Linked DNA regions of Homo sapiens: region 2 is linked to region 1. Evidence: promoter capture Hi-C in 16 types of primary human blood cells and fetal thymus (Javierre and others, 2016). All regions are on one chromosome and are shown on one strand. The core of a region is centred on a gene start or on the middle of the fragment in contact, and the rest is flanking DNA. Distances in the headings are between cores, read along the strand shown. Region 1 holds the start of COPB2 (coat protein complex I subunit beta 2). Region 2 holds the start of NME9 (NME/NM23 family member 9).

Region 1 (5,768 bases), core at 1,945-4,444:
TATTGGCCAGGCTGGTCTCGAACTCCTCTCCTGACCTTGTGATCCACCCACCTCGGTCTCCCAGCTCCAATTTTCCACTTTCAAATCATCATCTTAACATTCCTTGCTAGTTCCCAAAATCAAGGCTTTTTACTTCATTTCTGAATTCTGCCCCATAAATTACTATTACAAATTTTAACTTCTTTTTAAATCTCTATGGAGTCAACAGGTATGAAGAGTCTATTATGTACCAGGCAGGAACCATGGTGAGGGTTTTCATATAAGCCAGCATGTCTCACAATTTTCCTCCAGTAATGAGGAAATTGGACACTTACAAATTGTGAACATTTTACTTTAAAATATTTTAAATTATTGATTATTGAGTAAAAGTGATGCTCCATAAGTTGGGCCAATGAACTCTGAGCAACCCCAGTAAACCTCTACATACTCCCAAAGCACAAATCTCAGTTTAAAAAAGAACAGGCAGCCAGGCGTGGTGACTCATGCCTGTAATCTCAGTACTTTGGGAAGCTGAGGCGGGAGGATCACCTGAAGTCAGGAGTTTGAGACCAGCCTGGCCAACATGGTGAAACCCCGTCTCTACTAAAAATACAAAAAAAAAAAAAAAAATTAGTTGGACGTGGTGGCACGCGCCTGCAGTCCCAGCTACTCGGCAGGCTGAGGCTGCAGAATCACTTGAATCTGGGAGGTGGAGGTTGCAGTGAGCCACGATTGCACCACTGCACTCCAGCCTGGGCGACAGAGTGAGATTCTGTCAAGAAAGAAAGAAAGAAAGAAAGAAGGAAAGAAGGAAGTAAGGAAGGAAAGAAAAGAAAAAGAAAAGAAAGAAAAGAAAGAAAGAACGAACAGGCAAGGGTTCTTGTGATAATATTTCTCCCAACAGTTAAGTGACTATTTTGAATAAGACAATGTACTAGGTACTTTGGGACAAAGATGATTAGGATGCTCACACTGTATCCTCAACTTTAAATATATCCCTCCACCTTCCAAAAGCTGGATGCATTTAGGACTCAGCTTAAATGCCACTGCCACCAGTAAGACCTTTCTAGTTACCCTAGCCTGAAGCATTCTTTCCTAGGGAATCCTATAGGATTTCATTTTAACTGTTCATGGTACACTTGTGTACACATCTTTTCTTGCTTTCTAGAGTAGATCCTCCTTAAAGCCAGGGTCATTGCTTATACATGTCTTTATCTCCAGATCACCTTATATATTTGAGTATGGGGGTTTAAGAACAGATACCATAACACAAGACTAGAAAGCCATGATGGATTTAAATTTCAGTTCCACCACTCATTTCAGATGTGCAATAGTGGGCAAATTTACTTAACCTCTTTCAAGTTTGACTTATGTAAAACAGGAATATTATTATTATCTACCTCTTAGTGCTGTAAGAATTAAATTCAGAGTTAGCCAGTTAGAGCAGTGCCTGACCTACAGTAACCACTTCACAAACATATAACTCTATCTCCCAGCTGCTGTGAGAATTAGGCAGCCATGTTTAGCAAAGTGCATGGCAGACACTAAATATTCTATGGTAAATGTACAAATGAATGAATTCACGTTTTGTATTTTCCACAAAGGATTTAAAATATATAAAGAATGAAGGCAATATTTCATTATAGAAATACACTGGTAAATGTAAAGACGGCAAAAGAAAATGAAATTAGGCAGATCCAAGAGCCTTTTCCAAAAACGTCCATTACTGCAACCACAGCAGACCCAAACTACATCAGGTAGTTAGTAATACGAAGTGCTCTAATTAAGAGGCTTGAGGTCTTGTTCAGGGACTGTAACCTGGGTGCCCAAGAAAGTCCACGGATAGTGCTAGCTTCGGCAGCACATAGAGAGGAGATTAGCGTGGCCCCTGCGCAAGTATGACACGCAAATCCGTGAAGCGTTCCATATTTTTTATAAAACAAATTAAAAAAAAAAAGAAGGTCCATGGATTGTGGGGGGGGGTGTCTGTGAATGAATGCACTGAATTTTATGCAAAAATGTTTGTTTCTCTGTGCATTTTCCCTGGGAGTATTCCTAACTTTTTCCTAGTTCCAACTTTGCCACAATTAACCTTGTAGAAACATAATTTAAAAAAATTTTTTAACTTAAGATGAGGGACTTAATCCCTAGCGTCTTCAAGCTCCAAAATGTTTGATTCTGTGCTTCATAACAAGTTTTTTTTTTTTTTTTTTTGAGACGGAGTCTTGCTCTGTCCCAGGCTGGAGTGCAGTGGTGCGACCTCGGCTCACTGCAGCCTCTGCCTCCCGGGTTCAAGCGATTCTCCTGCCTCAGCCTCCTGAGTAGCTGGGACTACAGGGGCCCGCCACCACGCCCGGCTAATTTCTTTTTTTTTTTTTTGCATTTTCAATAGAGACGGAAGATATTCTTATACTATCGTTTTCTTTCCTTATTATTATAACACTCTTGTGCAAACTAGTCTAGGGCGTTTTTTAGGGTTACGGTGATAATAACAAAGTGCTCTAACAATTACTATTCTTACCAGCCACTGGATTTGCAAATGCATAAAAGCACACCAGCCAGTGTTATAAACAGCACCCCCTTCCTCCCAACCCTTCTTCTCCCCTTAGAAACCTAACAGCTGAGATATCAAAGCATTTGAAATTCCATTTTTGACTCCATATACATTTGTTTTTGGCTTCTTTGCTTGTTTATAGTTTGTAGCCAGCACACACTATCCCCAGAATAAGCCCAACAGGAGTGTAGATTAACTACCACCGTTTTAAAGGCAAACTTTAGTTTTACCAAAGCCTCCTACGGAGTTCAACACATTCGGCTTCTGTGTTTCCCTACACCACCGATCCCGCTGCAGACTGCAGGAGCTCTGGCAAGCGCCACAAGCGCCAGGGGAGACAAAACCCCTCACTAGCAGGCTTTGCCTCCCCAAATCACCCCGGTCCCCTAGGCCCCACCGCCTTCTCCCTTCCTGGAATCAAACGACCAAGACCCCGCAAGGCCTGAGGCGGCGGCCGCAGCGGGAGCCCAGACCACTGCTTACCGCGGCCCTCAGTCCAGAAGCTCCAGGAATCGGCCGTAACCTATGGGACCCCGCTCCCTTCTACGGGATCTGGACCTACCATGGCTGCGTCGGTCCAATCCCGGGAACCCTCGTTTGTTACCGGCTACTCAGGCCTTGAGATAAACCCACCGATCCACTGACCGTCAGACTGACTGACGTGGAACTTCCGGGAGCCGATTCTCGCGATAGTCAGAGGCCAGGGCCGGAGCGCCTGCGCAAACTGCGCGCAGGGCCGTCGTTTCCCAAGCCCCGCCCCAGTTTCCTAGGCAACGTGGCCTTCCAGACCGCTGGTAGTGGACTTGAGGCTGTCGGGAAGGAGGGGTGTGGCCTAGACCACTAAGGGCCGTGACGTGGTGCCGCTGAGCTTGGACCCCGACCAGAAGATAGAGATTGAAACGATGAGGAAAACGAAGTGCCTAATCCCCGCTGGACGCTAACTGCAGGGCAAGCTCCCCAGTGTTGTAGTTGTGTTTCGGAGGCCGAGAACCGCTATCGGGCTTCCTCGGACTCTGGCCCTGGAGGGGGGAAACGGCGAGGGAGAAGGCGAAACGAGTCTCCAGTGTGTTCTTGGGGCCTGGTGCGAGGCCCAGAGAATTCTCTGCAGGCCTTTGCCCGGGCACTGATTAAGGCTGCGAAGAGACGCACCGGGCTGCGGGCTTAGTAGCTTCAGGCTTCTGAAGTCAGAGGGAGGGCTGAGAGCTTACACTTCTGGAGCTCCCCGGGAGACGGCAACTACCCAACCGTGTGGGTGTGTTTGTGTATGTGTCTTTTGTTGAGCTTCGGCTGGCTGTGTTATTCATTCAACAAATATTTATCGATCTTCGGCAGTGTGTCAGACATACCTTCTTCTCAAATCTTCACATCAAACCTGAATTATCTCCATTTAATGATGAGGAAACTCGGGCTCAAAGAAGTTAAGTGTTCTAGCCAAGACTGCATAGTAAGTGGCAGATAAAACCTCAAAGTTGGGCCGGGCGCGGTGGCTCACGCCTGTAATCCCAGCACTTTGGGAGGCCGAAACGGGTGGATCACCTGAGGTCAGGAGTTCGAGACCAGCCTGGCCAACATGGTGAAACCCCGTCTCTATTAAAAATACAAAATTAGCCTGGCGTGGTGGCGGGCGCCTGTAATCCAAGCTGTTCCAGAGGCTGACAGGAGAATCGCTTAGAACCCAGGAGGTGGAGGTTGCAGTGAGCTGAGATCGCGCCACTGCACTCCAGCCTGGGCAACAGAGCAAGACTCTGTCTCAAAACAAAACACCTCAAAGTTTGTGCTCTTTCTACTACATAAAAATATCTCTTCATTAATGTGGCTGAATTCTAAGGGCCTGTGCCATAGGGGTTACACTACACAATAAAGTTCGAGAACATTTGCCTGTCACACGCACTGCACATCTCCTGTATTTCCTTTTTTTTTTTTTTTTTAAGAAAACATGTGGACCATAGAAAACTTGCCCTCTGGTTACACGTACAAACGTGTATTTTTAACTTGAGAGAAATCTTAAAGTCTTTTCAGACCTCCAGATTTTCAGAAAGGCAAAAAGAAAAATTATGTATTTGTGTGTGTAGATAATGATAATCAGAGGGAGATGATTTTGCACGAAATTATTTGGCTTTAGTAGGAGCCTTGAGCTAATGTGACTCTCTTCATGGGCCTCAGTTTTCATCATCTTAAAAAAAATCCAGCTACATGGTTTCTAAAGATCCTTCCATTTTTTTTTTTTTTATGTTTCTGTGGCATTCAATAGTGGAAAAAAGAGTCTGGAACTGGAGTTTAGTGCCAGCAGTGTGATCTTATGTAAATTGAGACTAATAATTCTAGTAATTGCATACTTTGCTTACTCTATGGAGTGACTGAGGATCCTGAGTTGAAAAAATTATATGAACTATACCTAATTTGCTTGAATAGTGGAACTTTCAATATTTCTAACTCCTGAATACTCTTGCACTTGAGAGAGTATTTTTGGATTTGGCACAGTACTAAGTGATACAAAATAAAATGATGTATCTCTATTGTCAAGGGGCTCAGCTGGGAATGCTTAAATCTTTGTATACCACTGGGCCACCTAAGGGTCTACCTAGCTGGTGTTGCGGGCCTGAACCCTCAAGTGTCATTCTTACTTGGACTATATCTTTTCTCATGTTTTCCACTGCAATTAGCCAAAATTAAGTCCTGCAATTGTAGACTGTAAATTCACTCTTTTAACCATTACATACTGAATGTGTACTATATACAAAGCACTATACTAGGTGCTGCCTTAAGATATTACCCATAGAATTTGGTGTTGGATTTTGGTTGAAATAAATTTTAAAGAAATAAAATTCTTAAATAGGAACTAATACATAACATTAAATATACACGTGTATTTCACTAGGCGTTCGACTGTGGGTTTAAATTAAAATCTTTTGTTTACTTGGTTTAGAGGAGACTGGAAGGTTAGGAAAAATAACCGTTGGGAAGAAAAGAAATATAGACAAGCTTAGCAGATTGGTAAAGGGTTTCCCAAGAGGTTGACTGCAATCGATTAACAGATCTTAAAGTCTTACCTAGTCAATTTCTATAATAGCTATTTCAGCCCTGCCTTTTTGCAGCAGCTGGGAGAATTCCAAGTGGGAATTCAGGTTGCAGTGCCTCTGTAAGTACCCTATATACACTGTTCCCTTCCCACCCTATTCCTACCTCTTCATAAGAAGTTGAGGAAAATAATTCGTTGAGAAAGAGTCAGGGTTTT
Region 2 (5,768 bases), core at 1,994-4,493, 1.1 Mb before region 1:
TATTTTTAGTAGAGACAGGGTTTCACCATGTTGGCCAGGCTGGTCGTGAACTCCTGACCTCAAGTAATCTGCCTGCCTCGGCCTTCCAAAGTGCTGGGATTACAGGCATGAGCCAGCACGCCTGGCCTACTATTGTTCTTAATACAGGTATGCTAAGGTCTGTGTCCCTCTAAAAAAGATAGGATGCATTATTGGCAATAAGGGCAAGAAACATGTAACAACTGCTAATCCTCTATTAAAAGTTCCTTTTTTGGCCGAACGTGGTTGCTCATGCCTGTAATCCCAACACTTTTGGAGGCCAGGGCGGGCAGATCACTTGAGGCCAGAAGTTTCAGACCTGCCTGGCCAACATGGTGAAACCCTGCCTCTACTAAAAAAAAAAAAAAAAAAAAAAAAAAGTTAGCCGGGCGTGGTGGCGCATACCTGTTTTACCAGCTACTCGGGAGGCTGAGACATGAGAACTGCTTGAACGTGAGAGGTGGAGGTTGCACTGAGATGAGATCATGCCGCTGCATTCCAGCCTGGGCGACAGGACAGAATGAAACTGTCTCAAAAAAAAAAAAAAAAAAGTCTCTCTTTTAAGGAAGCATAGTCCTTACTTTTTTTGTTTCAATGAAAAGTAGAAGAAAAAGAAACCCAGAAAAGTCTTCTTGATGTCTTAAATGAAATAAGAGAGTTGGACTGACATAACCCTGGGCCCACAACTACAGTCCTGAGGAAGGTGATAGAAGCGTTCGGAAGGGCCCCACACCCCTACCCAGAGGCTCAGACTTAAGTCACCAGCAGCTCTCTGTGGCCCACCCCTGTCATGGAGTGAGTCCCACCAGCTCTGGGGCCAGGACTCTGGGCAGTTGAAGAATCTCAGCCCTGGGAGCCAGGCAAGAGTGGAACAGTGTGGGAACTATCCGGACTTCACTAAGCCTGCATTTGGTAGGGAATGAATAGGGAATGTGTGGCACCTTTTACCCAGACTGTCCCTTGATGTCCTGTGATTTCTGCCTGTCTCAGTTATAAAGGGAACCCTGAATAACCTTGCTGAGAGAGAGGACAAGGTTCCTGGGTTGGCCAACTTTAGGCATTGCTTTCAAGGGGTTTACCTTATAGAGAGGTGACCTTTACACAGATGCCTCAGTAGAAGACGGGAGGGGAGGCTGCTCGCTCTCCTCCTTTCAGCAGGAGGGAGCACTTAGTTTGAGTACTGCATTGTACTCAGAGCTCTGAGTAATACACATGAAAAAATAACAACATTGCTAACAAAAGTTATTACCCCCATAGGAGCTCTAGGGCATCAACACATGAAATGACCATAATATGGGGCAATAACATTAGAGACACCACAGACAACATCAGACCAGCCAGGAAGTGTCTAAAGGAGTCTCATCACAGCTCTGCAGGCGTTACAGGACAGGTATCATCCCTCCTGTCTACGTAAAGGATACGGAGGCCAGAGAGTTGAGGAAATGAGTCACACAGCAATGAATGGTAGGACCAGTTGATCAGAATTTACTTCAACCAGAACATTCACGTATGAAGTGGCTTCTGACTCTAGAATCCTAGAATATCAAGGCTGGAAGAAGGCCCTTAGGGATAATTCACACAACATCCTCATTCCATAGATGGGCAAGCTATAGCCTGGAGAGGTTATGTGATGTAGTCAAAGACACAGTTGGCTATAGAGGACACAAGAACTACATCAGGTCTTCTGACTTCCAGTCTAAAAATCCCACCCCACCCCACCCCACACCCCTCCCACCCCCAGCATGGGGTACCCTTAGAATGATGCTGCTTTCCCCTTTCCTCTTTTTTAAACCACTAGGCTTTTGAAATCCACATGCAAACTGCTGGTCCTGCTGAGGACAATAAGAGAGAAACCAGATGTCTCAAAACCACTAATGCTCTATTATCTAGGAGGCGCTGTAGCCTTGGTATGCATCTTACTGGGGCCAGCTGATGATGAGGCATTTTAAGTTCGTTTTAAAATGTTCCCATGTTGCAGATCATCCAGCTGATCTCCTTATGACCAAGCACTCTCTCCTAATTCCAGGGTCTATGCCTGCATGTTTTTACCATCACTTCAGAATCAACCACTATCTATTGTCCAGGACCAAGAAGAAGAGCAGCTGCTGGCTTCTGAATTCACTTGTCCCACATGCAAATGAAGTAAGACACTCTATATAACATATGTCCAGCACATAATATATCTCAAAACATATTTGTTAATAAGTGAAATTTGATGAGAACAGTGGTGGGAAAACTGGGTCTCCACAGAGCACACAGTTACAGACTCATGCCCAAAGTCAAAAGAACCTATACTGTATTCTCTGTGCAAGCTGCAGTTGTATTTCAACAAGAACAAAATAACGGTCACATCGAGTTATGTTGATTCGTATTTTCTTAGTTTATAGTTTTATTTAATGCATGTTTAGGTTTTATGGTTGTATAAGCACTATAAATGTAAACAGCTTCTACTCAGTTTTGTTTGCATTAATTTTGTTTGCGTAAAATTTGTCATCACTGGGGTTCCAAGATAAGTTTTGTCCCTTTAAGACGGAAGGGTACATCACTCAAGTTTGAGAACACTGTCACGTACTGCTGGCAAACAGAATGTCACTTTTATACTGCAACCCCGCTCTAATCACCCTCCTCTTCCCCGAGCCCAACCCAGAGCTGGAAGCTAGCGCCCCTTGAGGCTTACCTGCAGGGCAATTTCCTTCTTCCTGCTGCCCATGGCTCTGCAAAGAAGACGAAGCCCTGTTACCGCGGCCGTGGGCCGTTCCCCCGCAGCCTCGCGACAAACCGCTGCGTGGATCAGCAAGCCCAGAGCCTCCTTCAGACAAGCCCCCCTCCTACGGCCCCCGGCCCCTTTTTAAGGTGCTTCTAACTGGCGGCAAATCAGCACACTGATACAAAGTGAACACCCCGCGAGGAAGCGGAGCCTGCAGTCCACGGGCTCGTGGCTCGCCGGGCGGTTTTCTGGGGATCTGCGAAGCCCCCTCCCCACCCCGGAGCCGGCCAGGGGGCGCGCGCAGAGGCCGGAGTCAGTGCGCCGGGCGCGGTGCAGCCTGTCGGGCACAGGGTCGCCAGTCGAGGAATTCTGACAAAAAAACGACATGGGACCCTGTTATCCCTGCTGTTCTTATGGATTACTGGGAAAGTGAGCCACTGCGAACGACAGGTACAAGATCTTCGACGCGCCCGGAGTCACCAACCGAGTCTGCCGCGACCTAGCCGCGGTCGTCATGGCAACCTGGCCCCCCCGCCAGGCCTGCCAGGAAAGCCGGCGGACACGTAAGCCACGCCCACTCTGGGCCCAACGCAGTCTCTCCGCGGAGGCTCTGAACCCAGCCAGGGAGAGGCAGGAGGGAGTCCCGCCCCTTGCCCTCCATATCGGACCATAGGAACCCACTCATTGGCTGCAGTGTTTGTCAGCGTCTGGAGGCTTCGAACCCACCAAGCAAAGACCCAGTGCATCTGTGCGTTGCACAGTCGCATCTGTGAATCCCTGCATCCCTCCTGCCCTGCCTGCCAAGACTGATGTGCAGCTTTTCTACCATCACATACCGGTATAATGTGTGCAAGGTGGGGGGTGTCTCCAGGTTTTGAGGGATCTGCAAGCGTTCTCTTTAAGGCAAAGAATATGAAATTACAAATTCAAAATTAGATATGAAAGTCAAGTGAGACACATACAAAACAGTTACAGACATTGTAGATATTAATCCAACTGTATCAATAACCACTTTAAATGTGAATAATCTGATTACACCAATTAAAAAAGAGATTGTCAGAATGGATTTCAAAAACAAACAAAGCCCAATCGTGTGTTATCCACAAGAAAATACATTAAAAGCAAAAGGATAGAGAAAGCTATACCAGGCTGACACTAATTAAAAAAATAGCTGAAGTAGGTATGTTAATTTCAAGAAAAGCAGACTTCAGAACAAGGAAATTTATCAGGTATAAACAGGGACATTACATAAAGTTAAAGGGATCAGTTATTTGGGAAGACATAACAATACTTAATATGTATGTACTTAAAAACAGAGCACCGAAATATGTGAGGCAAAAGAAGATAAAACTGCAAGGAAAAATAGGTAAACTCAGTATTATAATAGAATGCTTTCATACCATTTTTAAAAAGTAATTAATACATCCAGCAGAAGCAAATGAGCAAGGATATAGTTGAACTGAAAAATATCAAATTGATCTAATTGACATTTATGCAATATTTAGTTCAACAACAGCGGAATATAGATTCTTTCTCAAGCTCACATGGGACATTCACTGAGATAGACCACAATCTAGGCCATAAAACATAGCTTAACAAATTTAAAAGGATAGAACAAAGTATGTTCTCTGACTGCAATAGAATTAAACTAGGAATCAATCACAGCTGATGAAAGAGATCTCACAGATTTAAATAAATGAAGAAATATTCCGTGTTCATGGATAGGAAGAATTAATATTGTTAAGATATCAATTCTTCCTAAGTGAAGCATACACCAAATGATTTCCATCCAGGGAGTGCTGATACCCTGTTTGGCCATGAGGTACCCAGCAACCCTCTGTGAAGTACAGGGCGATGGGTATACTGGAGACCGAACATCTTCCTACCTGTCATCCTGCCTTCTCCCACTTCAGCTCCGAATCCACCTACTCTTTTCTTGCATTCAGTCCCATGGCAATATTCAGTTCCATGATAATATTACGCAGAGCCACAGGCAGTCCTTAAGACACCACATTGCAAACTGAGTTGACTAGATGCAAATCATGTTCATTGCCACAAGGTGGTGGTTGCTGAAGCTCTTGAATGGTGTGGAATCTCCCTTAGAATTTAGTTTCCAAAATAAAATTCAAATCAGATGCTAAATTCCTCTTGCCAGCACATGGAAAGATAGTGACATTTATTCTTTCTGAAAGGGTTAAATTTCTTACCATGTGGTCTCTATTACAAAATGTACTCACATCTTTGCCAGGCTAAACCTCAGAAACAAATTTAGGTAAACCACATGTCCCAGTTTGCCTGGGACACCCCCACTTTTCACCTGTTGTCCCATGCAATTATTAATAGCAACCCCTCTCACTTTCAAAAGTGTACAGTTTGGGTAGGGTGCAGTAGCTCACGCCTGTAATCCCAGCACTCTGGGAGGCCGAGGCAGGTGGATCACTTGAGGGCAGGAGCCTGGCCAACATGGTGAAACCCTGTCTCTACTAAAAAAAAGTATCAAATAACTGGGCCTGGTGGTGCATGCCTATAATCCCAGCTACTTGGGAGGCTGAGGCAGGAGAATCACTTGAACCCAGAAGACGGAGGTTGCAGTGAGCCAAGATCGTGCCACTGCACTCCAGCCTGGGTGACAGAACAAGACTCCATCTCAAAGAAAAAAAAAATTACAGTTTGGACAACATGGAACCTCATCAGTTTTTTCCCAGATGAATCACCTTGGGCCACTCCTGCTTTTTAATAAAACTTCCATCTTTTACATGTTTTGTGACACAGGTGAATGGTTTTTTTTGTTGTTGTTGTTTTTGTTTTTTTGGTTTTTTTTTGAGACAGAGTCTTGCTCTGTCACCTGGGCTGGAGTGCAGTGGCGTGATCTCAGCTCACTGCAACCTCCGCCTCCCGCGTTCAAGCAATTCTCCTGCCTCAGCCTCCCGAGTAGCTGGGACTACAGGCATGTGGCACTATGCCCAGCTAATTTTTGTATTTTTAGTAGAGATGGGGTTTTACCCCGTTGGTTGGCCAGGATGGTCTAGATCTCTTGACCTTA

Evidence for each region. Contacts are between HindIII fragments. The CHiCAGO score rates a contact against its expected background, and 5 or more counts as called.
Region 2: a contact is called between the fragment with the promoter of NME9 here and the fragment with the promoter of COPB2 in region 1, in 3 of 17 cell types (total CD4 T cells, non-activated CD4 T cells and total CD8 T cells). The highest score is 6.7, in total CD4 T cells.

Annotation. Positions count from the first base shown.
Region 1 is chr3:139,386,453-139,392,220 of GRCh38, forward strand. COPB2 (coat protein complex I subunit beta 2) reads right to left here and starts at 3,195. Exons shown (of 22, transcript NM_004766.3): 1 at 3,096-3,195. The coding sequence starts at 3,098. It overlaps COPB2-DT (COPB2 divergent transcript), which reads left to right and starts at 3,351. Exons shown (of 5, transcript NR_121609.1): 1 at 3,351-3,481. It also overlaps the pseudogene LOC124906339. RefSeq lists enhancers at 2,873-3,122, 2,919-3,480, 3,413-3,712, 3,481-4,043, 3,923-4,032. The HindIII fragment of the contact is 7,530 bases long and covers 1-5,513 here.
Region 2 is chr3:138,326,608-138,332,375 of GRCh38, forward strand. It overlaps NME9 (NME/NM23 family member 9), which reads right to left and starts at 3,244. Exons shown (of 11, transcript NM_001349018.2): 1 at 2,696-3,244. The coding sequence starts at 2,728. LOC124909438 (a long non-coding RNA gene) reads left to right here and starts at 3,326. Exons shown (of 2, transcript XR_007096113.1): 1 at 3,326-3,563. The HindIII fragment of the contact is 16,828 bases long and covers 1-5,768 here.